Regions from separate parts of the Homo sapiens genome. Here region 2 is linked to region 1. Evidence: promoter capture Hi-C in 16 types of primary human blood cells and fetal thymus (Javierre and others, 2016). All regions are on one chromosome and are shown on one strand. Each heading gives the region's core, a stretch centred on a gene start or on the middle of the fragment in contact. The rest is flanking DNA. Distances are from core to core; before and after follow the strand shown.

The links. Contacts are between HindIII fragments. The CHiCAGO score rates a contact against its expected background, and 5 or more counts as called.
Region 2: a contact is called between the fragment with the promoter of DAP here and the fragment with the promoter of MED10 in region 1, in 4 of 17 cell types (non-activated CD4 T cells, naive CD8 T cells, naive CD4 T cells and 1 more). The highest score is 10.9, in non-activated CD4 T cells.

Annotation. Positions count from the first base shown.
Region 1 is chr5:6,374,438-6,380,884 of GRCh38, forward strand. It overlaps MED10 (mediator complex subunit 10), which reads right to left and starts at 4,110. Exons shown (of 4, transcript NM_032286.3): 1 at 3,925-4,110; 2 at 2,729-2,812. The coding sequence starts at 4,046. RefSeq lists enhancers at 3,845-4,054, 4,345-4,564. The HindIII fragment of the contact is 6,030 bases long and covers 2,461-6,447 here.
Region 2 is chr5:10,757,842-10,764,288 of GRCh38, forward strand. It overlaps DAP (death associated protein), which reads right to left and starts at 3,393. Exons shown (of 4, transcript NM_004394.3): 1 at 3,173-3,393. The coding sequence starts at 3,227. It overlaps DAP-DT (DAP divergent transcript), which reads left to right and starts at 3,195. Exons shown (of 3, transcript NR_187555.1): 1 at 3,195-3,375. RefSeq lists silencers at 2,949-3,378, 3,459-3,928 and an enhancer at 3,451-4,296. The HindIII fragment of the contact is 9,246 bases long and covers 1-6,447 here.

The sequences.
Region 1 (6,447 bases), core at 2,860-5,359:
ATATATTTCAATTAGCATTCTCATGACTGACACCTATTCTCACAGCTTTCTGAAAGGTATGGGGGAATAAAGGTTAGGTATATATAACTGCACACGGCCTTGTTTAGACAAAACTCAGTGTAGGAACCAGGGGAATTAATATTCCCTCATTTACACAAGTACAGATCATCTGATTTCATTACTTCTGATAATACGAACAGCTCATAAAATCAAGTAATGATCACTGATAAACCCAAGCACGCTTCACAAGCCATACCACTTTACATGTGTTTAGCATTTGCACTTTTCAAAATTCGTTCATGCTATTTATTACCTTTTTGATCCTTACAGCAGCTTGTATGGTAAGGCAACTCTTGACAAAAGAAAAAACTAAATGAGATCCAGGGGTTCGGGCCTGGGTGACATAGGCGGATCCTTCCACGATGCAGCCTCCATTCTAGGTCAGCCCTGCTGCTTGGCAAAGCCCCTCCTCCTCTGTGGAGGAGCTTCAGGGGAAAGGAAAGGAGAACTACAAGCACAAGAGCCCCAGCCCTGACGACCCCAAGATCCTTTTACAAACCATTCCACTGCTTTAAAAAGAAGAGGCGGCTTGATATACCACTTTACTAAATACACCTAGGTAACTTAAATATAACAGAGACATTCTGGCCAATTATTTCTAAACAGTATAAAACTGTTACTTAGAATTTCTGACACTTCCCCCAGAAATTATCTTCAGTATCCTGAAGATTTAATTAAACATACTGCCTAGATCAATACCTATATTTTACCAAGAGCAGGCCACCTACCTTTTTCTGTACCCTAAAGAAATCCTTATCATTCAACTAAACTGAATCATTCATTATTTAAAAAACAAAAAACAAAAACTGAAAACTAACTCTACTTTCGAATTTTATAATTGAGGCCAAAAATATATAATCACTTCAGAACAAGATATCATTAGGTTACTACTAATGGTATAAAAAGTAGCCTTGATAGATAGCAAAAGATAAAAACATCACAAGTTCTAGAAATTCTATTTCATTTCAGTGTTTTTGAAATAATGTAATGTGGCAAAATTATGGTTAATTCTAAACAAAATCTATCCATTTCTCAAGAAAAACCTGACAGGCTCACAGAATAAGGTTAACCATGTCAGCTGACGGTCGTTTCTTCAACAGCATGGACATCCTGCTCAGACTTGGTTCTTTGAAGACCGAAGGGTGAACCCACTCCTGCCCACACACAAAGTCCTGGAGACAAGGGCCAAGCTGCTTTCACCTTAGCTAAAGACACAGTTGGTGTGTATGAAAATGTACACGCTGCAAAGGCCACTGGGACCTGGAAATTCCTTCTACATTGGGTAGACACCAACCACCGATTTGCAGATAAACTCCCAGCATCTGCTCTGTATTAGGGCTCACTGGCATACTCTTCCTGATACCCCAGGTCAATCTCATCCATCCCCGTGCCCAGCACTTCCCTCGGCCCTTAAGCAGTCTGTTCACATCAGTCTCCATTTGTTCTGCTTCAGAAGACACAAGTAGTTACTTGCCACTTGTCACTATATGCATCCCCTGCATTCATAATCAGAAGAGCACAAAGGAGGATGCTCTGTATTCCTGGACTGAGAAAGCCAAAGCTGAGTCTGGAGCTACCTGAGGTGCAAGACCTTCGTCCCACCTGAAGTCAGAGACCTCAGTGGTGCCCACTGAGCACAGGTAAGGAACATGGGGCAAAGTCATCAGCAGGTGAACAGAAGATCAGAGACCAAGAAAACCACCTCTGTGTCCTGTCTTTGTAGGCAGCTGCTGCACTATAGCTAGAACTTGTATCTCTGACCTTTTGGGATGGAAAACAGCCATAACTCTTTCCCTTTACTGCTTAACGAAATCTAGTGATTTACATTTGCAGTTTTGCTGCAAGAAATACTAGAATGTTCTTGCTGTTCCAAGCCAGCACCATCAGGGAGAGGCTGCTTTGCACTGGTCAAGAAAGTATGAGTCCGGGGGTTTCGTCTTAACTCTGACACTTACTAGGTAAACAACCTATTGCAGTTACTTATCAGGTCCTTCATGTGTGAAATCAGAGATGTGACCAAATCAATGCAAGAAAACCTGGATTTTAAAAATCTAAAAGCTCATTCCTGTATGTGTTCTCAGGACTATTACTAACATAGGTGCACACAACTCTCGCACAGAAAACAGTGAGCAGCCTCCCCAAACATACTTGGAATAAGAACCCTTTCTTTCCTCCTTCGACAGAGCAGATATTTTCACCTCTCAGAACTAGCACTCCACGGGCAGTTTGGGAACATCAGACCAGCTTGCTTTTCAGGTGCTTCTGGCTGCCATTTTTTAAAAATTTACAATATAGCCCTCATAGGACTTTTCACCTCTTAAGGAAAAAAGAAAGTTTTGTGGCTGTTCTTTAGCCTAAGCAGGGCTTTGAGGACCTATGATGTATTTCATATATTTAATAAGCTTTTATTTACATGTAACTTTTTTTCCACAATAGAATATTAAGGATATTCTTTTTTTTCGTTTTGTAATGCCATTAGAACGGAAGTTCCATAAGGGCAGGTATTTTTGTATTTTTGTCTATTTTTTTTTCCACTGGCACATCCCCAGCACCCAGGCTGTGCCTACCACACAGCAGGCACTCGAATGCCAGTGATGAAGAAGTCACGATACCACACCATAACTGAACAAGATTTATACCCAAGACTAATATCAAGAATGTTACTTACTCAAAAACTTCTAACGGTACAGTAATATCATGAAGCTGCTGTCTGCACTTGTCAATATCCTGTAAGCCAGTAACAATAAAATTCCTGGGGGAAAGGCAAACACACAGGCATCTGGTTAATTTCGCTTGACAGCATAAGCACCACCCACAGAGCTACCCAGCCAACCGGGGCTCCACGCAAGTTCGTTCTCCTCACAGCTATGCGGGTTACACACGGTTCTGACCTCTTTGGTTAGCTACAGGATTCCTAGGACACCGTTAGAGTTACAAAATACCCTTAAATATTTGTTACTTTCCTTCTCAACTAGAAATTGCCAGTAAGGGGGATGGAGAGGGAACCTGATGAAAAATATGAACCTTCTCTCAAAAACAATTACCTGACTGTGCATATGACTGTGTGTGCGGTTTCAGCGAACACATGAGGCAGCGGACTATACTCAAAGTCTGAGGGAAAGAAAGCCATACTGTCTGGTTTAGCTTCCTCTCCTCTCTGGAGCCTTCCTACAGCATCAGGCTGGTCTGGCTATTCCCACAGCACTAGGTATGGAACCTCGAGTGCAACATTTTCTATGTCCGTGCCACATATAAAGCCCTTCTCGAAAGTGCTGTACTTGCATTTGCCTTTTCTCCAACCCAGGGCCTAGCAACATGGGCAGCACAAGGCTGTTGCCAAGAAATAATAATAATAAACGTTCTGCAACCTTTCTCAGCACCACCTCCCCGCTATTTCCTCCACTGTCAGGCCTATGCGGCAGGTGGCTTCGGAGCCTCACCTTCTGAGGCCTAGTTTAGGGCGTGCACTCACTGTGGAGCCTGCCTCCCCTCTGGAGACAGGGACTGAATTCCCAGAAGGGCTCCAGGAGGAAAAGGCTGGGAGGGGGTTACACATGAGAGGGGAGACGCTAGAAGAGAAAGCATGATTCCCTTGATAGGGAAACGTAAAGTATATCATCTGGCCATGACGACGTCTCCAAAGGGGCCTCAAAGAGGTTGGCTCTTGGCAACAGGCTGGAGCGCGGGCCCCGCCCTCTGAACACAGCCAGGAAAGGCGCCCCGGGCTCCGGGACCAGACCAGAGGGCTGGCGGGGCACGAGTAGCGGTCAGGCTCGGCTCGGGCTCCCTAGATCCCCGCTCCCCTAGCACACGCTTCCCGGCCAGGCCCTGGGGAGACCCCGGCAGCCTCGGGCCGCCACTCACAGCTTTTGGTTGAGCCCGGCCTGGCTGCTGGGCTGGAAGTCACTGACGATGATGCCGAGCTGCCGAATGTTCTCCACGAACTTCTCCAGGTGCTCCTCTAGGTGGTCAAACTTCTCCGCCATCGCCTCGGCCCGTCCCCGACCCACACAGCCTCAACCAGCAGCGCCGCAGGCGTGGCCCTACGCTCCCGCTTCCTGCTTCCGTCCGGACAGATACGACTTCCGTTTCCTCTGGGGGAGCGCGGGCGAGCTCTTGGGGGCGGAGCCTCGTTATCGGGACGGGCGTGTTGGGGCGGGGCCTAAGTGCGGGGCAGGGCGGGCTTTCGGGGATGCGGTCTGGATTCTGGAGGAGGCCTCGGCGCGCAGCTGGGCGAGTACTAACTGTTTGCACTCTCATCAGACCTGCCTCGGTCATGGGAGAAGTTGAAGACTTTCTGCAATGCAGCATCTTCAAGCAATACACACATGGATGAAAATCCTAAAGTTTGCATGAAGGACCAATAACGGTAGTTTCCCTGCCCCTCTACCAGAACCCCTGGGATCAGCGCCTGCCTGCCTCCTTTCTTCTATGTAATCGGCGGCCACCTCCCCTAGCTCTTGCTGCTAACCATGCTTCCCGGACACCTGCTGCCTTCGTAGGTCAGGGTCTCACCTCCTCGGGCCAATTCTGACCAAACAGCACCCTGTGGGGTTGCCCTGTCTTAGTAAACTGCTGTTTATCTCATTGAAATTCAGTTTAGGTCATTTCACTCTTATGTTTAAGAAACTTTTCTGCCCGATCTCCTATGATAGCGGATATCTCCTCTAGCCTGTTTGAATTTCTCAAGTGATTTATTTTACTGAATATATTTGTGGCCTGTACTTTTCAGTGCCTAGAAACAGGCAAAGTGAGGGAGCTCCTTTGCTAGATGATCTTCAGAGCCTCTCCCAGCTGTGACCAGAAATGGAAAGCCAGAGAAGGTAAGTGACTTGCCAAACTTATGGAATCAGGGCACTCCAGTTGGTGGGCTGGGCTGATAAACAGAAATGTTACATAAAATACTTCTCTCCTGATTTAACAACAATTAACTTTAGGGAATTATAAAACAAGATGGAGGCTGGGCGTGGTGGCTCAGGCCTGTAATCCCAGAACTTTGGAAGGCCAAGGCAGGTGGATTACCTGAGGTGAGGAGTTCGAGACCGACCTGACCAATATGGAGAAACCCTGTCTCTACTAAAAATACAAAAATTAGTCAGACATGGTGGTGTGCGCCTGTAGTCCCAGCTACTTGGGAGGCTGAGACAGGAGAATTGCTTGAACCCAGGAGGCAGAGGTTGCAGTAAGCCGAGATCATGCCACTGCACTCCAGCCTGGGCAACAGAGCAAGACTCAAAAAAAAAAAAAAAAGGTGGAAATAAAATATTAGACAAATAAAAAATTTTAAGTTATTAGGTAGAGGTAGCGACATGGAGTGAACGGCCTTTCTCAATTTCATAAGTAAGAAAGATAGATAATTGATGGAACTTAGGCTTTGGTAAGTATTTATTTTAAAAATTTAAGGGTATCTCTTTGCTAGTATATATAATTCCCAAACTAGTAGACAGGGGGAAGGGAATAAAGAAAACACAATCAACTCAATAGAAGGCAAGAAAAGAAGAGAATAAAGAAGCAAAGAACAAGCATGGAAAATAAAACTCACAACGTAAAGTGCAAAAATTAAAGGCACACGACTCAACAGCAAAAAAGCAAAAGAAGAAATTTATAAATGGGCAAAGGACCTGAACAGATACTTCTCAAAAGAAGACATAAAAATGACCAGCAAAAATGCTCAGCATCACATATCATCAGGGAAATACAAATTAAAAGCATAATGAGATGTCACCTTACACTGTTAGAAGGGCTATAATCAAAAAGACCAAAGACAATGGGTGTGGGTGAAAATGTGGAGGAAAGGGAACCCTTGTACACTGTTGATGGGAATGTAAATTAGTGCAGCCTTTATGGAAAATAGAATGGAAGTTTCCCAAAACTCTAAAAACAGAATTACCATATGATCCAGCAGTCCTACTTCTGAGTATATACTGTGAACCCTGAATATCTGAGACAGTTCTCAGTTAATTTAGAAAGTTTATTTTGCCAAGGTTGAAGACACACACTCATGACACGGCCTCAGGAGGTCCTGATGACATGAGCCCAAGGTGGTCAGGGCACAGCTTGGTTTTATACATTTTAGGGAAACATGAGACATAAATCAATATGTAAGTGTAAGGTATACACTGGTTCTGTCCAGAAAGGCGGGAAAACTCAAAGCAGGGAGGGGGCTTCCAGGTCACTGGTAGGTGAAAGACAAATAGTTACATTATTTTGAGTTTCTGATTTGCCTTTCCAAAGGAGGCAATCAGATATGCACCTATCTCAGTGAGCAAAGGGATCACTTTGAATAGAATGGGAGGCAGGTTGTCCCTGAGCATTTTCCAGCATGACTTTTCCCTTTAGCTTAGTGATTTGGGGGCCCCAAAATTTATTTTCCTTTCACAATACTCA
Region 2 (6,447 bases), core at 2,143-4,642, 4.4 Mb after region 1:
AAACTCTGGAGTGCTTATTGAGTATTTTGTGCCACCCCGGGAATAAAGAGATCAAGAAGACCCAGCCCTGGAAGCAAGAAGACAGGCAGAGAGGCGAAGGTTAGTGCACGAAGGAAAACAAGGGGATTGCGGGGAATGTACAGGAGATATGGGCCAGACAGCAACAAAGAGAAGACACAAAAGAACATTAAGATAGTCACTGTAAGAGAATTTTATTATTTCTGATTGAGCATTGAGGCACAAGTCTGTTATCCAATTTAAGCACTTAATGAAAGCATTCTCAACATTTTTAAGGCAGTGATTTTGATTTATGAACTGTGCTCTTGGCTATCCTTGATGATTATCCTTTAGTGTAGTGGGCCGCCTTTTTTTTTTTTTTTTAAAAACTATCTACCCTTCAGAGCTGCCTACTCTCTGGCAATGCCAGACTAAACAAGAACACCAGAGCTTCCTGCCAGAAAAGGTTCACACATGGTCCTCTGTAACATCTAGGAAAGCGCATTTGAGGGGTGCTGTTGGCATCTGAGGGGTGCTGTTGGCATTTGAGGGGTGCTGTTGGCATTTGAGGGGTGCTGTTGGCATTTGAGGGATGCTGCTGGCATTTGAGGGGTGCTGCTATTGGGCCCCTCCTCTAACTATGGTCTTGGAGACAGATGACAGATGGTGACAGCCACCCGCAAGAGCTCACCCCGTAAGTCTAAAGGGGTTGCCCTGAAGTTACTAGAGGAGTTTACCTGGGGGATGAACAGTGCTGGTACCCTGATGCTGAAGCGGGACGTGAGACTCACTGCAGCAAACACAGCCCCACCCTGTGACTTGCCCCGAGGCCCAAACCTCGAATTTCATAAAGGAGAAAAACTGAGCCCCAGTGAAGCGTGAAGTGATGTCTTCAAACTTAGAACCCAAGCTCACTGCTACACTAGCACAAATAAGCTGCCTCTTCCCTCCTCAGGGGTAAATAAACTACTTACTCTGTAATTCACAAAGCCTAGCTGTTTACTCTGCAATTCAAAGAAAACCAGAGTCCAGCAAGGAATTTCTCCCAGGGAGTGAGTATGTACAGTTTATACCTCTGACCTTAAAAATCTCCATATGGGCACTTTGGAAGGCTGAGGTGGGTGGATCACCTGAAGTCAGGAGTTCAAGACCAGCCTGGCCAACATGGCAAAATCCGGTCTCTACTAAAAATACAAAAATCAGCCAGGTGTGGTGGCAGGCACCTGTAAACCCAGCTACTCGGGAGGCTGAGGCAGGAGAATCTCTTGAACCTAGAAGGCGGAGGTTGCAGTGAGCCAAGATCGTGCCACTGCACTCCCAGGTGACAGAGTGAGACTCTGTTTCAAAAAACAAAACAAAAAACTTCTTTATGGGTGTGTCTCTGTATGCAATTTAATTACTGTACTTTGGTTCTGTATCATTCCAACAGATACGCTTTAATGTAACCCATGTCCTGGGGAGTGGAGGGCCAGAGCAGGTGGCTGCTGCAGTTCCTGGAGGCAGCCCTGCCCGGGGTGGAAATCAAGGCGCTCCTCCCCACAGTGGACAGGGACCCGCTGTGGTGGAATGGAAGTCAGTTATCCTTAAAAGAAATCCCATCAAAAAAAAAACTCCCTTTGAAGTACTTTTTTTCTTAAAACCAATGCAACACAAATTCCCCCAAAACCATTTTCCATCACAGTGGAATGATTTTCTAAAACCCCATGCCTCTTAAGTTCTCTGGCATCAGTTAGACATTTTTCTTTCCCAGTGCCAGTTAGTTTTGTTGTAGAGAGCCTCCGTCACCACTGAAAAATATTGCCTACTCTGGACTGCAACATATTTAAAGAACGGCTCCTATTCATTGTGCTGGTGCAGAGAATTCCCGCCCTATAGCGGAGGACAGCAGAGAAGGATAATGGGAATCTTTTTTTTTTTTTTTTTTTTTTTTGAGATGGAGTCTCGCTCGCTTTGTCGCCAAGGCTGGAGTGCTTTGGCTCAATCTTGGCTCACTACAACTTCTGCCTCCCGGGTTCAAGCCATTCTCCTGCCTCGGCCTCCTGAATAGCTGGGATTACAGGCGCCCGCCACCATGCCCAGCTAATTTTTCTACTTTTAGTAGAGATGGGGTTTCACCATGTTATCCAGGCTAGTCTTGAACTCCTGACCTCAAGTGATCCACCCTCCTTGGCCTCCCAAACTGCTGGGGTTACAGGCATGAGCCACCGCGCCTGGCCAGGAATCTTTATTGTCAAGAAAATGGCGCAAATGTGCCACCAAAAGAAGCCATGTTTCTCAAAGACTTCTGTTCCTACAAGACTGAGTTTATGACACTAAGGCGTGCTATTAAGACCTAAAAGAACCTCACGCATCCATACATTGAAGTGACTTGGCTTCTGAGACCCAAGGCCTTTGATCTTCTCACCAGTGTCCCTCCATATGGGCCGACTGCCACTGGAAAGGAGAGTAGAAACGGAAACAGACCCGTCTGGACAGAATCCAAAGTGCAAACAGGAACTGTGCCCAGAGAGAGGAGGAGGTGGCAGAAGCATGAAGGCTGCTTAGATCCCTATGTTCTAAGAAAGACCGCTCTTTCCTGGCTTTAACTTCCTTGGCTCAGAAGTTTAGGATTTGCTCAAAATCAGAAAAAGCAACTTTGGGGGAAAAAAAAAATCTGGATGTGGAAGAAACTGGCGGTGAAAGTCATATTGAGTGATTAATGATAAAAATTATTTCCGCTCCTTGGTTCTTGAGTCGGTATGAAACGCTGGCAGCCTCTAATTAATCATCACCATGATATTAACACCACTGACTTTTCATTGCTTCTGCTACTTTCTTTCTAGACATCTGTATCCTCTAAGTAAATATTATCCGCCAAAACTTTGTTATAAGTTGTGCAACTGGGTTCGCCCAAGGCACCGGAGCCTGCGCGCAATCGCACAGGTACGCGGCCGCCCGCGGTCCTCAGGAAGAAACGCTTCGCCGCCGCCGGCAAGCGGGGCCGAAGCTCCGGCGGGCTCCTCCCGGGCCTGGGCGCCCGACCTCTCCGCGGCCCGCGCCCCTCGGGCGGGCATCAAGGCCCGGAACCCGTCTCAGCGCTCGCCGGGGCCCTCCCCGCGGAGCCCCCGCCCGGCGCCCCCGGGTTCGAGCCCGCCCCCGGCACCCGCGCGTGGAGAGAGAGGAAAAGAGTCAGTACCGGCGGGCGGGTGTCCAGCTTTAGTCTCTAGTTTCCCTTCGGGAGGCGAAGACATGACGCGGCGGGGCTTCCGCGGGGCCGAGGCGGCGGCGCGGTTCTCGGGCCGGGCGGGCGTGCGCGAGTGAGCTCAGGTGTGAGCGCCGGGGAGCGAGCGGGCGGGAGAACGACGCGCGCGCGTGGGGCGCCGGGGCCGCGCGAGCCGGGTGAGTGCCACTGCCGTTAAGGGGGCGCGGCCGCCGCGCGCCGACGTGGCGCAGCCGAGCCCACCGACGGCATGCGCACTGACGTCACCGCGGCCCGCCCGCCCTGCTGGGCCGCGAGCCAAGCATACGGTGCGTGCGCAGCCGGCCGCGCCACGTCGGATGCTGTGGCCGGGGGCGGGGGCGGGGGCGGGGGCGGGGGCGGAGGAGGGAGGGGAGAGAAGGGGTGAAGAAGTGAGAGGGAGAAGGAAGGAGAGGGAGGCGGGGTCCCCGACTGGCTGCGGGGACTGGAGTTGCGGAAAGTTAAGTAGGGCCCAGCTGAGGATGGCTCCTGCAGCGAACGCGCTCAGCCGGGCTCCTGGCTACGCGGCGACGGCTGGGTGACTGCGCCCCACAGTGCGGGCCAGGGCCGGGGCGTCCCGGCAGGGAGGCGACCGTCCCCTGAGGCCCTCAGCCCCTGCCGCGGCAGCGCCTAATGAAGCGCGGAAAGGAGAGCCCAGATGGCAGCGACGGGGGCCGAGAGAGCAGGAATTTGTTAAAAGACGATGCGAGGGGAGAGCCTGCTTTCCGAGTGAGGGCCAGCGCTGGGGAGCAGAGACGGTGGCTTCTGTCCCTGCCCTCCTCGTTATGAACCAAAAATAAAATTCTAAGCCCTGCAGCCAACGGATGGACCCTCCCCTCCGCCTGTGGCCTTCTAAGTTATCTTGAAAAACTAGTTCAGGCCTTGATGGGAAGCGGAAGTCAAACATGGCCTCACAAACATCCGCACGGAGACCCTAAGACTAATAGAGGACTCTGATAAGAAACATTTGCAGTGTATTCCCGGCTTCATCTGCATGATAACACCTTGGTCTCCACAACTCCTTCATGCAACCCGGACATTCCCTTCTACTGAGTCCAGGTCTTTAGATGATAACTCTCAACCAGTTGCCAATCAGAAAACCTTTAAATGTACCTATGACCCGGACGCCTCCACTTCACATTTTACCTCCTAAAGAGCCAACCTACATCTTACGTATTGATTGATGTCTCATGTCTCCCTCAAATGTATAAAACCAAGATGTTTCCTGGCCACCCTGGGCACATGTCATCAGAACCTCCTGAGGTTGTGTCAATGCACGTCCTTAACCTTGGCAAAATAAACTTCCTAAATTGAGACCACTCTCAGAAACTTTTGGTTTTCACCATCATCTTCCTGTTGCCGTGGCTGACCCCTGGCTCTCGTGCCTTGGATCGTGTTCTTCCCGCCTGCCCCAGTGTTTTGCAACTGCTGTTAACTTCCGCAATGCCTTGCTGGATTCGCATTCAGACAGGCCTAATCTCTTTAGCGAAGGAAACACCACCCCTCGCTTGGCTGTACTTTTCCCTTTGACAACAAAACTGTTCAGGGAGGCTGAGCTCCTCATCTCTTGTCACTCCCTCCAGTCCAGTTTGTCTGGTTTTCATCAAGTTCTGCTGCACTGCCCTCAACCATGGGAGGTCCTTTTGTGGAAGTCACTTATAACCTATGTGCTGCCAGATCCAATGGTCATTTTCTACTTTCATTCTATTTGAGCTCTTAGCAGCACTTGATGCAGCTGGCCGTCCCCCTCCTCCTTTGCTCCGGAGGTGCCACATCACTGCCTTACCCTCCAGTTCTCTGGCCACCCTGGCTGCTCACTCTGTCAGCTTGGCAGTTCGCCCTCTTCTAGATTTATAAACATTTGAGTATCGCAAGGCTCAGCATTGGCCTTCTTCTCTATCTAGACTTCCCATAGATAGTCACATGCAGCCTGTGGACGACTATCATGCAGATGCTTACAGGTGCCAAATCTGCAACCTCATTTCTCTATTTCTGCTCCTCCCCTGAACTCCAGACTCACCACCACCACCACCTGCAGACGCTTATGGGTGCCACATCTGCAACTTAATTTCTCTCTTTCTGCCCCTCCACTGAACTCCAAACTCACCACCGCCACCTTGGCTTCTCTATTTGTTGTCTAACTCAGTGCTGCGCAACTCTGTGCATCAGGGCACACATGGAGATGCACATAGCATACATTGGTCTTGCATTCCCCACTCCATACACACATTTCAACACCGGTAATAGGATAATTGTTGGCCAGGCTGCAGTCATGATATGCTTGCCATTGTCTTGCATTCACATCCAAACTTCCAAGTGGGTGCCAGCAGTTTAGAAGAGAATCCTGAAATTAATACTGGGTTACTCTTTAAAGAGATAGCACATCACTCACGTTCTTAAAGGTTTAAGGATACCTAACTGATTAATTTCATGAGTAACTTCCTTTTTATGTATGTGCAAAAGTGCTATATAGTTAAAAACTTATGTCGTATGTCTTAAGCCTAAAGAATTATTTCTTGGAAGTATAAAATGAAAATTTTAAGTTGAAAGAGCACATTGTGGTATCATTTAATTGGTAGTGTTTTTACCCTTAGTGGTACCTAAAACAAAGTTGCATGTTACGAGCCACAGCATCTTAGACTCAATAACAAATGCTATTGGTAAGGAACCCTGGGGGGTGGGGGAGAAAGCCTTCACAGGAAGGAGCAGAGCTCCAGAGGGGCCCTGGTGGCCCCTGGACTGCCCTGAGGTCTGACAGGTTGTGTCTCTTTGCCTGTGACCTGTTCTCCAGGTTTGTACTGATTGGGAAACTCTGGTTGTCTTACAGTAGGTAGCTAGTCGGCCTGAGCAGGGCAGGAGAGGACTCTTCCCCCACAACCCACACCACCAGAAATGTTGTGTGACCATCAGGTGATGGTCAGGAAGTTGTTACACTGTTTCTCTAAAATAATAATTGGTTGCAGTCAGTGCCAGGGAAAGGCAGTCTCCCAGTAGATAGAAAAAACCTGAAAGTGGTGGTCAGCAGCTTCCTGGTAAGATCTCTTTGCCACACATCGAGAGGCAAAATGGCAACGTTTGACTGGTATATGACCTTCTAGGAACATGAGGCTGGTAAGGGAAGATTGCCTCAAGTGAGCATGTGTACACTTCCAATAAACACACTGCCCCTGCTCACTTTCCAAGCGCTGGCAAGTCACTGTGCATGTGGACAGCCTACCCCAAGGGAAGAATCA